Regions from separate parts of the Homo sapiens genome. Here region 1 is linked to region 2. The links are contacts of gene promoters, found by promoter capture Hi-C in human tissues and cell types (Jung and others, 2019). All regions are on one chromosome and are shown on one strand. Each heading gives the region's core, a stretch centred on a gene start or on the middle of the fragment in contact. The rest is flanking DNA. Distances are from core to core; before and after follow the strand shown.

Region 1 (6,741 bases), core at 82-2,581, 200 kb before region 2:
TTGGAAAAATAGAGGAGACGGGGAGATCAACTGTGTAGATGACACAGTTAGAAGGATAAACAATACAGGGATTGGCACAACCCAATCCAAAATTATCTCAAAATGCTGGAACCCTAGCTTGACACCAATGGCATGGAATTCGACACAACTTAAAGACCCGTGCAGATCTCCAAAACATCCATCGCACCAAGTGTGAGAAGAGAGTGAGTCACCTGCCAGTAGGTCACGTGCAAAACTCCAGAGGCTTCAGTTGCCACAAGTATGACACGGTTCCCCAAATCATTATCACAATCATGGTTGCATTATTAAGAGAATCTTATGTTTAAATGATGATTCACAGGTTACAAAACGCATTTATGTGTGTTCTGGCGTTGATCCTCCCCATAACCCTTTGAGGTGCACGCAGCATATATTATTATCCCCACTTTACAAGTGAGAAAACTGAGGCTCAGGAAGATTAATTGACTTTTCCAGTGTCATAAAGCTGGTAAGTGACTAGACCGGGGTCAGCATAGAAGTCTTCCAAGCCCTGGTTTCTTGCTGTCCACTGCCCCACACCACCGGGCAATGCTTGGTTTGGTGCACGGGAATGAGGTAAGCAGGCACTCGGTGCTGTCAGAACCACACCTGGAGGGTGGTGAGCTCTTAGGAATGCTGAATTGGATCATGATTTGATTGTGTTCGTTCATTCTAGATGACAAACTAAGGGAGTTCACCAAGGCTCTAAATAAATGCAATAAAAGCAACTAGTAAGTAAACCATGAGTGTTCAGACTAGGTGCTATTCGTCAATGCTTTCTGTTTACTCCCAGAAATGATCTTTTACAGAATTAATTTGGTTCCAACTAATTTGTAAAGGTGATTTTTTTTCTGTAATATTTCCACTCATGAGTGCCAGTTAAAATGACCAGAGGAAGAAAACTATGAAGATGATGCCTGCTCCTATCTCGCCCCTGGCTAATTCAGCTAGTTCCAAAAGCATGCTTGGGATTTTTCACCCCACTTCGCCTGTTTAGCCATAGCCCAATGTATGTTCTAGTTTCATTGCAATCTTTTTAACATAGAGAGAAATCACTGTAACCATCCTACTCAATTTACTGAGTTCCCTTTCACTCAAATATTTACATCTAGGTAAAGTATTTCAATTATTTTCTTTTAAAGTAAAGGAAGGCCTGTTTGAATCTTAGATAATAATTTAAGAATTCTGCCAATCTGTATTCGTATGTTTCTTCCCAGTTATGTCTTTAAGGCCTAAGACCAGACACTCTACTGCCCTGTGCCTGCCTTTGGAGCTTGAGCGGGGAAAGGGACAGGGAGGAGGGAGGTAGGGGTTAGGGATAGTTCCCCAAGGACTGCCAGGAGGAGGAATGGGTGCTGGGCAGATGAAAACACCAGCATCCTCCCTAGATTCTCGATGGGCAGGAAACCCCACCTTCCCTCTTTCCTCTTCCCATCTTCCTTATTCCCAAAATAATCTCCCCCCGTAACCTGAGTGCTGCATCAGCCTGGGCAGTGATCTGATACTCTGATTTATATACTTTAAAACAAAGGTGTAAATAATACACAAGTCCCCTAGGGATCTTGTAATGAAAAGAAGAGTTTAATATCCCAAATAAAACTCTAATGAAGAGTTTAGTTTTGTTTGTTTCTTTGTATGTTTGTTTTGTGATTTGATTTTATTTGATTTGGTTTGATTTTAGAGTGCCCTTTTCTGTGCTGGTTGGTGTCTGAAAACACCATTTCAACACACCACCCTTAGGGAGGAAAAGGCAGGAAATGAACTTTCACCTGCACCCATCCACCTTTCTCTCTACTACGGTACAGGACTCGGCATCAGCCAAAGTTTCTGTAAAAACAAAGAACTTCTGGCAGGGAGCAGCTAGTCAGGTGATTCAAGGCTCCACAGCAGGGAATCTATGTGTGCTGGGCTTCTTGTACCCACTGCTGGAGAGCCACATGAGTCTTCCAGGTCCAGGTGTTAGCCTCTGGCGAGGAAGACATTCCTTGTCTAAGGCAGACACTGGCCATGCAGGAGGAAGCACATGAAGCAAGCTAGAACCCCGGGCGCCAGGACACTCCAGGCATCCAGAGAGGACTGGCTCACACGGGCAGCTTTTCTTGGAAATGCAGCACTTCGACTTTAGGTTCTGTGGGTTCTACTGGGGTAGAGGAGTCAGACTTGTCTCCAGAGCACACTTGACTTGAATGGAGAACTGGATCTCAGAATTCCAGGCCATCTCAGGTTCCTCTAAATAGATGCATGTGGTTCACAGAGGCTCAGAAATCAGAGCTGGGCAAGAAGACTTAGGAATATAATCCTTCAATACTAATTATATTTCTGCCTCCTTCATTGACCACATCAAAATTTGTAACTCATTTGCAAATCAGGCTGATACCATAGAGTTTATAATCAGTTTGCTAGTGTCATTCTAGTGTAGTTGGTTTGCTTGCAAATGCAAACAACCCATTTTTAGTTATTCCATTCCTTCCACCAGTCTATTCATTCTAGAGGAATGTGGCTCTTTAGTGTGCAATGTTTTATGGTGGTCCTAAATCATGGTCCTGCTCACTTTTGATTCCTTTTTGAATCACAACTTCAGACAGTCACAGATCCAGAACCAGTTGTATCATTGAAACAAACACTCTCACCAATCTCTTCTCCCCATTCAGGGCACACACATGCTTCAACCGACTGGATCTTCCACCGTATCCCTCGTACTCCATGTTGTATGAAAAGCTGTTAACAGCAGTAGAGGAAACCAGCACCTTTGGACTTGAGTGAGGACATGGAACCTCGCCTGACATTTTCCTGGCCAGTGACATCACCCTTCCTGGGATGATCCCCTTTTCCCTTTCCCTTAATCAACTCTCCTTTGATTTTGGTATTCCATGATTTTTATTTTCAAACCAAATCAGGATTGACAAAAGCTGTGCATGAAGAACTGCCTTCTTCTAAGATCTAACCTTCAGGCTTCTCTCCTCTGTTTTCAATGAACTGCTAGCCTGTATGCAATATTAAAAAACAGCTGTCTCAAGGTCTGTGTATATCTCCACATACCTCCATTACTAACAATGAAATATGAATGCAAGTTAAGCTACACTTGACCAAATGGTAATAAATGTTTACTTCCATTTCTATCATTGAAGGGAAAATGTGAGCATTAAGCACTCCAGGCTTTCATATGCCCATGTCTTCTGAGCAGAGCCACCATTTTTTATAATTTCTAATAACCAACTCCAGAACTAGGAGCTGATCAACTCTTTGTTTTCCTCTCCATCTACTTTTCCCTGTGCATAATATCCATCCAAAGGACAACAGTGGCAAAGCTGAAATTTTTATACATTCAACTCATGATTCACATGTGGCATCAGTCCCATCAGCCGGAACTAGCCTAGACATACGGTGCAAATATGACACTTCTAACGATTAACAACAGCAAGAAAACACCTGCTGCTGATGCAATGCAATGCATCCCAATGGTTGTGGGGATTGTGGGCTCAACTCAAGAGAAGTTTAGGAGGGGGAGCATCCCTAGTGAATACTCACACCACAAGAAGGACAAACTTGTGCACATGTCCAAGAAAGAAAGCTTCTTGATTGAGGTAGCATGAAGGATGAGGCTTCAGCCCCCATTGTCTTATGTAGAATGTGGCAATGCCAACTGGAGAAAGGGAAGAAGGACATATTACCTTGGTTTGAATCCCTGAGTTCTGTACTGTTCTGTTTTGTTTAGTCTAGCCACAGTTCTTCACAAAGGAAAAAAAAATGTGTAGATGATACCATGACTTTTGTTAAAGCCATGACTTTTGTTTGCTTGGCAGACAAACCCTTTTTTTAAAACTTTGATATTTTTTTTTCACATTTTTTTTTCCTTTTCCTTTCTTAATCATGGAGTTCAAGTTCCTTTGCATTCGATTGTCCATCGGGACCACACTAGGAAGCTGCAGAGAGTGATGGTGCTTGTTAGGGATCAAGGGCAACATAGTACTTCTCCTTCACCCATAGTAATCCTCCTGGGGCAGAAACATAACACCCCAAAGGCACGTTGATTTGTATCAAAATAAATATCCAGTTTCTTTTAGCATTCAGTGAAAACATATCTCAGAAAACTTCATGTTGTCAGAAAAACAGCTGCAGGCTCCAAAGACAGCCTAACCTCTCAACTACATTTGAAATAAACCCAACCATAATGGTCATTTGCTATTTTTCTAACGTTGTTATCCATGTTGCCTGAAATAGGTCATAAATGAAAGTGTTTTTCTTCACTGGGAAAAAGAAGAGCTCAAGAGACCCCACTATTTAAATGTCATTTAATTGTTTTCCATATTAAAACAAGGGAGAAATGTAAGACGAAGTGAATTTCATATGAAGCCAATGGCTCATTATACCAGTTTGTGTCTGGACAGTGTGTTATTTGTGTTCCTACACTCTAAAGCATTCCGGCCAGGAGCGGTGGCTCATGCCTGTAATCCCAGCACTTTGGGAGGCCGAGGTGGGGAGATCGCTTGAGGTCAGGAGTTCAAGACAAGCCTGGCCAACATGGTGAAACCCCATCTCTACTAAAAATACAAAAATTAGCCGGGCGTGATGGCACATGCCGGTAGTCCCAGCTACTTGGGAGGCTGAGGAAGGAGAATCGCTCAAACCTGAGAAGCAGAGGTTGCAGTGAGCCAAGACTGTGCCACTGCACTCCAGCCTGGATGATCAAGGGAGACACCATCTAAAAAAAAAATAAATAAAAATAAAAGCATTTTTTTAGTAGGAATTATCTACAATGCCCAGCACCCCTTGCAGCGATGTGTCCGTTGTCAATCAAGGAGTATACATTATAGAAATTTAGACTTTTATTGTCTAAAAAGAATATTTACTGAGACAGGATGGAATCTGTAAGTTATATGATATAGAATTTGAGGGATATGTAAAATTCAGTACACGTTCAGCATCTGAAAAATAATGGATTCCAATGGAGCTATTGTTTTATTTATGAAATCAGAGCATAAGGACTATGCAAATCATTGAACCATAACCTTATTCTAACTCTTGCAACAACATCTCTAATATAGGGGCATCTTTTATCTTTAGAACTTGGTGTTATATATATGTAAATACTCATTAATTCAAGCACTCTCTTTCTAGTACTCACATTATTTGTCAGGCATTGGAAAAGGAGAAAGCTGTTTACAAGATGGACCAGCTCCTGGAGAGCTTTGCAATTTATATAAATTACTAATTAATCTATTAATTAGATTAATTAATATCTAATCTACCCATATACAAAAGGAATGCAGTATCTCAGAAATTATATATAGATAGGTAACTTTGGCATACATGATTTTTCAACTACCGTTTCCTTATCCACCAGTACTACTGATGTCACAGCTATAGATCTATCCCACAAAGCATAACAGGAACATTCTTTCACAAAAGTGCAAAATTTCATGAAGAAATGCTGATGTCACGGTCACCTGAAAGAAGATGAAGCTTGTAATATTTTATTGCAACCTTGCATAGAATCCTTAAGGAAGAAAAACAAAGAGAAGAGGAACACAGAAACAAGTTATGGAAATTCATGTTTACCTTATTTATAAGGCTGATTTTTAAATTATATATAATTTTTCATTCAATATGTATATGAAATGAAATAGCTATAGAACTAAATTTCACTTAGGTGGAGGTATAAACCACCTTAAATTATATAGTTCGGCAGAAAGACAGATCTATTTGTTACCACCTGTAATTTTTTTTTAAGCATGAGTTTTCTCCATGGAGGCAAATTGCAAAATTAATCACTTATAAATTTATAAGCCACAATCTCCCTAAAACAATTGATTTTAGTAAGAGTGTAACGCCTTTAATCAGGGGACAAACAAGAACAATAAATAAGAGAAGATTTATGTTACAACTTTGAAAAATGCTTTTAAAATTCTATAAAGTGTTATAATAATTTCATGGATATCACAAATGTTTTATTCTACAGTGTGAAGATGATAATCCTAAAAATGGAAATTGATTCTGTGAGGTCAGGAGAAGTATTCTAAATCTACTGAACTCTTTGTAATTTCCTATGTATATAAATGAGTGGAGGTTGTGAAGATGCCGAGAGAGTGGTGAAAAAATTAAGAAAAAGAGACATATGATTTGGGGGAGCAGGCGTTAAACATGCAAGATCTAAATTTTCTTTTAATACATGACCATATGTCCTTGAACAGTAAGTATATTTGTGTGGCAAGCCAATGGCTGAGTTTTCCAGGGTAGTTTTAATATTACATCCATCATATTTTCAGTCCATGTGTCAAACCATGTGTCCAAAATTTGGGTTCGGAAATTTCTCAGTTGCCACAAATATTTTCCCAGTCAAGATGAAACACTTTCAAATGAAAGTAGTTAGAACTTTACATAACAAATGTGGTGCTTTATTATTATTATTATTATTATTTTTATTATTATTATTATTACGTACTTCAGTGTTCATTATTAAAACTACCGCAATACTATATCATAAAAATCTGGGATGGATGTTCCAGCCATCATAAGGTCCAAAAGAAAAGAGAAAGTGTTATTTTCCTGTTAGTGACATGTAGTCCCTTTGTTCTAGTAGGAAAAAAGGTGCCTAGAGGTAGTATATAGAGTAAATATTGTTCCTTTAGCCTACTTCCTGCAGCTTCCAATTTATCCAAGGAAATGTCTACAACAATTTTGTTCAAAAGTCTGTTCTAGTCAATAGCAGGAGAAGTCCACGTT
Region 2 (6,789 bases), core at 2,878-5,377:
AAGGTATTTGTTATAGTAGCCTGAATGGACTATGACAATACATGATGTCATTTTTTGGACTGTAGTGTTCATCAGCTCTTTGGAGATGACCATGCCAGACCTCTCTCCAGCAGTTCTCCCTGTGGGTACATGTACTGTGACTTCTTCCTCACCTCTACATATCTGGCATTCACCGCCAGCTTCCTGCCCTTCCAGGCAGCCTTACTGGACTGGATCCAAGGGCACTGTCTCCTGCATGGCCCATATCTGATCCATGGGAAACACAAATGCATCTTGGGACCCCTCGGCATGTGTGGGCTGACAGCCGACCACTGCATGCCTTTTTCAGGTGGGAGGTAAGTGACCAGAGAGTCTCCATGTGCACCAACATACCTAACAAGCTCCCCAAATGGCTGGAAGCCTGTAGGCATGAAGTGAAGGAAATGGGCTGCGGAAGCTTCCCTCAGTGGGGAGGAAGTAAACTCACAGCACAGCAAAAGCTCTGTCAGAGATTTCTTTTTTCTTTTTTTCTTTTTTTTTTTTTTTGAGACGGAGTCTCGCTCTGTTGCCCAGGCTGGAGCTCACTGCAAGCTCCGCCTCCCGGGTTCACGCCATTCTCCTGCCTCAGCCTCCCGAGTAGCTGGGACTACAGGCGCCCCCCACTACGTCTGACTAATTTTTTGTATTTTTAGTAGAGACGGGGTTTCTCCGTGTTAGCCAGGATGGTCTCGATCTCCTGATCTCGTGATCTGCCCGCCTCGGCCTCCCAAAGTGCTGGGATTACAAGTGTGAGCCACTGCGCCTGGCCTTTTCTTTTTCTTTGATACAGAGTCTCACTCGTCGCCCAGGCTGCAGTGCAATGGCATGATCTTGGCTCACTGCAACCTCTGCCTCCCAGGTTCAAGCAATTCTCCTGCCTCAACCTCCCGAGTAGCTGGGATTATGGGCACGTACCACCATGCCTGGCTAAATTTTTTTTTTTTATTTGTATTTTTAGTAGAGACGGGGTTTCACCACATTGGCCAGGCTGGTCCTGAACTCCTGACCTCAGGTGATCTGCCCACCTCGGCCTCCCAAAGTGCTGGGATTACAGGTGTGAGCCACCGCGCCTGCCCCTTTTTTTCTTTTTTTGAGACGGAGTCTCATTCTGTCGCCCAGGCTGGAGTGAGGTGGGGAGATCCCAGCTCACTATAACCTCTGCCTCTCAGATTCAAGCGATTCTCCTGCATCAGCCTCCTGAATAACTGGAACTACAGGTACGCTCCACTGTGCCTGGCTAATTTTTGTATTTCTAATGGAAACGGGGTTTCACCATGTTGCCCAGGCTGATCTCAAATTCCTGACCTCAAGTGATCTGCCTGCCTCGGCCTCCCAAAGTGCTGGGATTACAGGCATTAAGCCACCGCACCCGGCCTCTGTCAGAGATTTCTTCACCAAACCCTCCTTCCACTCTCCAATTCCTTCTTTTTATTTATTTATTTTATTTTATTTTTTACTTTTATTATTTTTTTAATTTTTTTTTTTTTAGATGGAGTCTCACTTTGTCTCCCAGGCTGTAGTGCAGTAGTGCTATCTTGGCTCACTGCAACCTCTGTCTCCCGGGTTCAAGTGATTCTCATGCCTCAGCCTCCCTCCCAGAGTAGCTGGGAGTATAGGCATATGCCACCATACCTGGCTAATTTTTGTATTTTTAGTAGAGACGGGGTCTTACCATGTTGCCCAGGCTGCGACCTGCCTGCCTGGGCCTCCCAAAGTGTTGCGATTACAGGTGGCTCCCGCCTGATTCTTTCTTACATCTTTGGAGATCTCTTCCTAGAATTTCACATTAGTATATCTTGTTGTCCTAATCAAAATCTATACTTTCATATCTTGTTACACATAGGAGAAAAAGAGCTAAGAGAATGACACAGAAATGGAGCTGGAGCCTTAATACACCTCCTAACTGTTAATCTGTTTGGGTGGGGTTTCTGTCACTTGTGGCCTACAGCAGTCTTACTGTCCCCCCAACCTCCCACAAAGTTCTTCAGGTTGAAGAGAGTCACTACTTTGTAGAATGGGAAGCTCTTACTCAAAAAAGTAGAAACTGAATACAAAACTAGACTTTAGAAGGATAAGATAAATAAATCAATGCATTCATAACACATCATTACAAGAAAGTGAGGGGGTTAGAGGTCTCATCTTTAAATTCTGCTCTCAAGGACATGGAGGGCCCCTCTCACAGGCTTTCCCAAAGCTCCTCTGGGTGTACTGGTCTGACTCAGCAAGTGAACATCTGTGGTTTTGCCTAGCCAGCATCCCTTCTCCTAGCAGCAGCACTCAGCATGTCCTTTTGGGGAATCACTCTTTTCTCTTGTGGTTTATTTAAAGTGACTGCACAATCAGACCCCAGAGTTTGGCTTATGTCCTAGGCCTTGCCAGTGAAAATATGGTACCTCATCAGTGGCAGTTATTTTTCCGAGAAAGGACATATCATGACCCAAGGGGCAGCAGCAGGGAGGGGTGGATGGAAGAGACAGATAACAAACAATAAGCTAAATAAACAAATTCAGTCAGGAGCTAAAGAAATAAGTCATTCAGGAGTGGGGCAGGTGGCAATTTCAAATGGAGTGGTTAGGGTAGTTCTCAATGAGGCAGCATTTGAGAAAATATCAGGAAGAGTGAGAAGTAGTCGAGCATTCCAAACAGACAGGAGCCTGTGCAAAGACCCTGCAGCAGAGCCCTGTCTGCCTTGCATAAGAAATAGCAGGGAGGCCAGAGTGACTGGAGCAGAGTGAGCCAGTGGGGAGGCAGTAGCAGATGAGGTTGTAGGGGTAACAGAGGAGCAGATCAGGCAGGGCTTTGGGTTTTACTCTGAGTTTGGGAAACCACTGGGAAGGTTTTGGGCAGAGGAGGAATTTGATCTGGCTTTCTTTTTTTAAGGTCACTCTGGCTGCTTTATGGGGACAGGCTGCAGGGATATCAGGGAAGAGACCACTGTCATGACCCAGGTAGCAGATGATGGAGGCAGAGGTAAGAAGTGGTCAGGCTCTGGGTATGCTAGGGAGATCCAACCAACAGAATTTTTGGGCCCTGGAGGTGGGATGTGAGAGAAAGGTTTCTGAAACAGCAAGGTTTCTGGCCTTGACAACTGGAAGATGGAGTTGCCATCGAGATGGTGATGCTATGGGGAAGAGATCAGGGGCACAGATTTGGATGTGTTGAGATTGAAATGTATTTTAGAGATCCAAGAGGAGGTATTAAGGAGGCAGCTGGATAGAGGAGTATGGAGTTCAGGAGGCAGGTCCCGCCTGGAGATAAAAATTCAAAGCCAAGCCTTCTCTCTTTGCACTCAACAAAACCTCACTTAAACAGGCTTGTCAGGTCATGGAATACGGTACTAGAACTCTTTGTTGGGGAAAATGCCAGTCAACCTTACCCGTCAGAACGCTGCCTTTAAGATCAGAGATCTCTTTCCTTCAGCCTAATCCACCCCTCTCCCTGTTTTCTCCCCTAGCCCCACTAGGCTAGAAGCTCCCTGGCTTCTCCCACATCAGGATCCCCAACAAACCCATTCCCAGGTGGATAAGAGCCCAGGCAGTTCCCTAGACCACGTTCACTACTTCCTAGCTACCCAAGAGCAGGACATCGCAGACACCGGCCTCCTGGAATATTCCCTCCGCTCCTCACATTTACAGGAAGGACTCAGGTAAGCCTCGGCGCCAGTTCAGTCGGCCCGGGGCCACTAAATACCAATGGGATCCAGTGGGTTCTACGTGGTGAGTGGGGGGCGGATAAGAGAGATGCGACACCCCCCGGGCCTGCCCCCCCCACGCCGGGGCCAGGCACACCGTGAGGGGGCCAGGCACACCGTGAGGGGGCCCAGCCACTTCCATACGCCCTCCGGTCGGCCGGCACCCACCACCCACCCCTCGCCACCAAGCTGGGTGCAGAGAACAGGGCAGGCGCACGGACGGTTCTTACGGCCCCAGGCGCCAGACCCAGGGCACAGAGGCCAGGATCTCACGCGCGACCGCACGAGGCCGGGACCCTCCCTCCCCTTCCGTCCACTCCCTTCCCCACCGCCTCCGGTCCCCTCCCGGTCTCCGCCACCCCGCTTCGGGGCCCCCGCCCCCCAGCCGGGCAGCCAATCGGAGCTGGGATCCCGCCCCGGTCCGCAAAGCCGGTGGCGCCCGGAGGCTGCACGGAGAGCGGTGCCCGCGTCAGGTGAGGCGCGCGCGGGGAACGGGGGTCGCGCGCAGGGGAGCGGGGGTCGCGCGCGGCTTCCATAGAGCGCTAGGGCCTGAGCTCGAAGCCCCAGGCCCGCAGGAGGCCCGGGCCCGCGGCCGCCAGAGCCGGGACGCAGCCTGGGCGCCGCCTGCCCCGCCCCGCCCCGCCCGGGCCCGGAGTGAGGACGCGGTCGGAGGCCCAGCAGCGCGGGTCCCGGCAAGGGGCTTTCTCAACTACACAAAAGACAGTCTAAAAAATTAAGTCTCCATTTCGGTTAAGACTGCCCGTAGTTTCGGTTTTTATGTAGACCCAAGAGGGCAGGCTCGGCGTCCGCGTGCCGCGTAGTCCGGCGGCTCCAGGAGCGCGAGCGGCTGGGCCCGGGCGTAGCCACCGCAGGGCCGCTAGCTCGGCCGGGACCCGCCTGGGATGCCCTGGGGTCTGCTCCGCTGGGGCGAATCCTGAGGCGCCACGCGAGGCACTTGGCCTCTCCTAGCCCCGCTTTCGTTTTTGGAAACTGGAAACTATCACTTATTTCGTAGACGGTGTGAGGGTTACATGACAGTGTTCTGTAAAGTGCACTCTACATATGAAGTGCTCAGAAATATGGCTAATAATGAGGGTATTTATAAACTACTTAAATTATAAAAAGAATGAGACATCAGACTTACAGTTTTGGATACTAATTTTTTTCACTTAACGTTCATTATGTGATAGGAGTTTTCCATCCTATTATACCGCTGTGCGATCTGATCTTGGGCACGTTAACCAACCTCTTGTTGCCTCGATTTTCTCACCTGTAAAAGTGGGGGTAATCATAATGCTTACTTAGTAGGATAGCCCTGAAGAATAAGTGACTTAGCGAACATAAATAGCTTACAATAGGGTTTTCAGCATGGGAAGGATTCAGTAAATGTTAGCTGTCATCATCACCACCTACAAAGGAAGCAATACTGTGCTGAAAGTTTTTCCATCATTAATGTAATTTCTATAGTACGATTCCCAAGAAGATATTAAAATTATGGAAATAAAGGTATTGGTATATTCCTAATTATTTCCTAAAAGATTGTATTGATAAATATGCTCATCCTTCCCTTAACGGGATGCATTCCAGAAAAACAAGTCAAATGTTAGACAAAGTATCAGAAGGGAAATTCTGTAGCCAGAGAGCTAAAAATTACAATAGGGTCTCTAATTATACTTCAACTTTTTTAGGAATAATTCTCAGTGTGTTTTCCCACATTTCATATGTAATTTTTTTTTTTTTTTTTTTTTGAGACAGAGCCTCGCCCTGTCACCAGGCTGGAGTACAGTGGCGCGATCTCGGCTCACTGCAACTTCCACCTGCTGGGTTCAAGCAATTCTTCTGACCTCAGGTGATCCACCCGCCTCGGCCTCCCAAAGTGCTGGGATTATAACAGGCGTGGCATGAGTCACCGCGCCCGGCCGATCTTTACTTTTTTATTCTTTGTACCCCCTGCCTATCCAGTTAGCATGTGATTAAAGTCAAAGATTTGCCACTTTGGGCCACATCTATTAATTTTCATCTTTGTTATAATTGTATTTAGTTTTTGATCTACACTGCTTATTACTCCCAGTCATTTTTTCTAGAACTGAAAATCTGGTAAAATACTCAAAATTGCACTGACTTCTATGTAGAGGCGACACTCCATCAGAACCGTGGGCTGACAGGGAATCCCACTGTGCAGGAGCTGCGCGCATTTTCATTTCTGATTCTCTTTGGCGTATCCAGGACTCTGATGACATGATCATATATTTATCAGTAGTAACAGGTTGGGCCATTTGTTTTTTGTGGTAAATCATATATTTAAGATTTTAGAAATAAGTTGATAGCCATGTATTTTGGAATTTGAAAAAGACATTGCATTACTCAGCTTCAAATTAAGCTTTAATCAAATAGTGAAACTTTCCATTAATGGACAGTGTATACCTTTTTGTGTATTTAAAAAAAAAAACACTGAATATAGTGCCTTTGTGACAGGGGAGCTTAGTTCCTGACAATGTCCTCTTGAGTCTTTTTTTTTTTTTTTTGAGATGGAGTCTCACTGTGTCGCCCAGGCTGGAGTGCAGTGGCGCCATCTTGGCTCACTGCAACCTCCGCCCCCTGGGTTCAAGTGATTCTCATTCCTCAGCTTCCTAAGTAGCTGGGATTACAGGCACGCACCACCATGACCAGCTAATTTTTATACTTTTAGTAGAGACAGGGTTTTGCCATGTTGGCTAGGTTGGTCTCGAACTCCTGACCTCAAGTAATCCACCCACCATGGCCTCCCCAAAGTGCTGGGATTACAGGCGTGAGCCATTTCACCCGGCCTCTCTTCCGTCTTTGAGCTGTGAGGAAATAGCTACATTACATGAGCTGCTAGATCTGCCTTATGGTCAGAAATGAAGGTTGAACTCTCAGGAACAGTGACATATATACACACTGATATTTCCAAAGTACAATGCCCCAAATTGATCCACAAAGGAATTAAGGTCATTTGCAACAAAATCACAGAATAGTAACAAATAAATAGAAGATAAATATGGCCAGGAATTGAGATGAGAGAAAGTATAAGTACAAGAAACTATTCCAGGGGAAAAAAA

The links. The method cuts DNA at HindIII sites, captures the fragments that hold promoters and counts their contacts. A contact is called where the count stands out against the background at its distance.
Region 1: a fragment that was not itself captured here is called in contact with the fragment with the promoter of BLVRA in region 2 in 1 of the 25 tissues and cell types used here (pancreas).

What each region holds. Positions count from the first base shown.
Region 1 is chr7:43,559,146-43,565,886 of GRCh38, forward strand. It overlaps HECW1 (HECT, C2 and WW domain containing E3 ubiquitin protein ligase 1), which reads left to right. Exons shown (of 30, transcript NM_015052.5): 30 at 2,670-6,741. The coding sequence ends at 2,781. Among named protein-coding and RNA genes, the nearest start is that of STK17A, 21 kb to the right of the region's middle. The HindIII fragment of the contact is 6,407 bases long and covers 1-4,535 here.
Region 2 is chr7:43,754,553-43,761,341 of GRCh38, forward strand. It overlaps BLVRA (biliverdin reductase A), which reads left to right and starts at 4,128. Exons shown (of 8, transcript NM_000712.4): 1 at 4,128-4,182. It also overlaps the pseudogene LOC107986727. RefSeq lists a cis regulatory region at 2,044-2,811 and silencers at 3,833-4,222, 4,233-4,552. The HindIII fragment of the contact is 11,547 bases long and covers 1-6,789 here.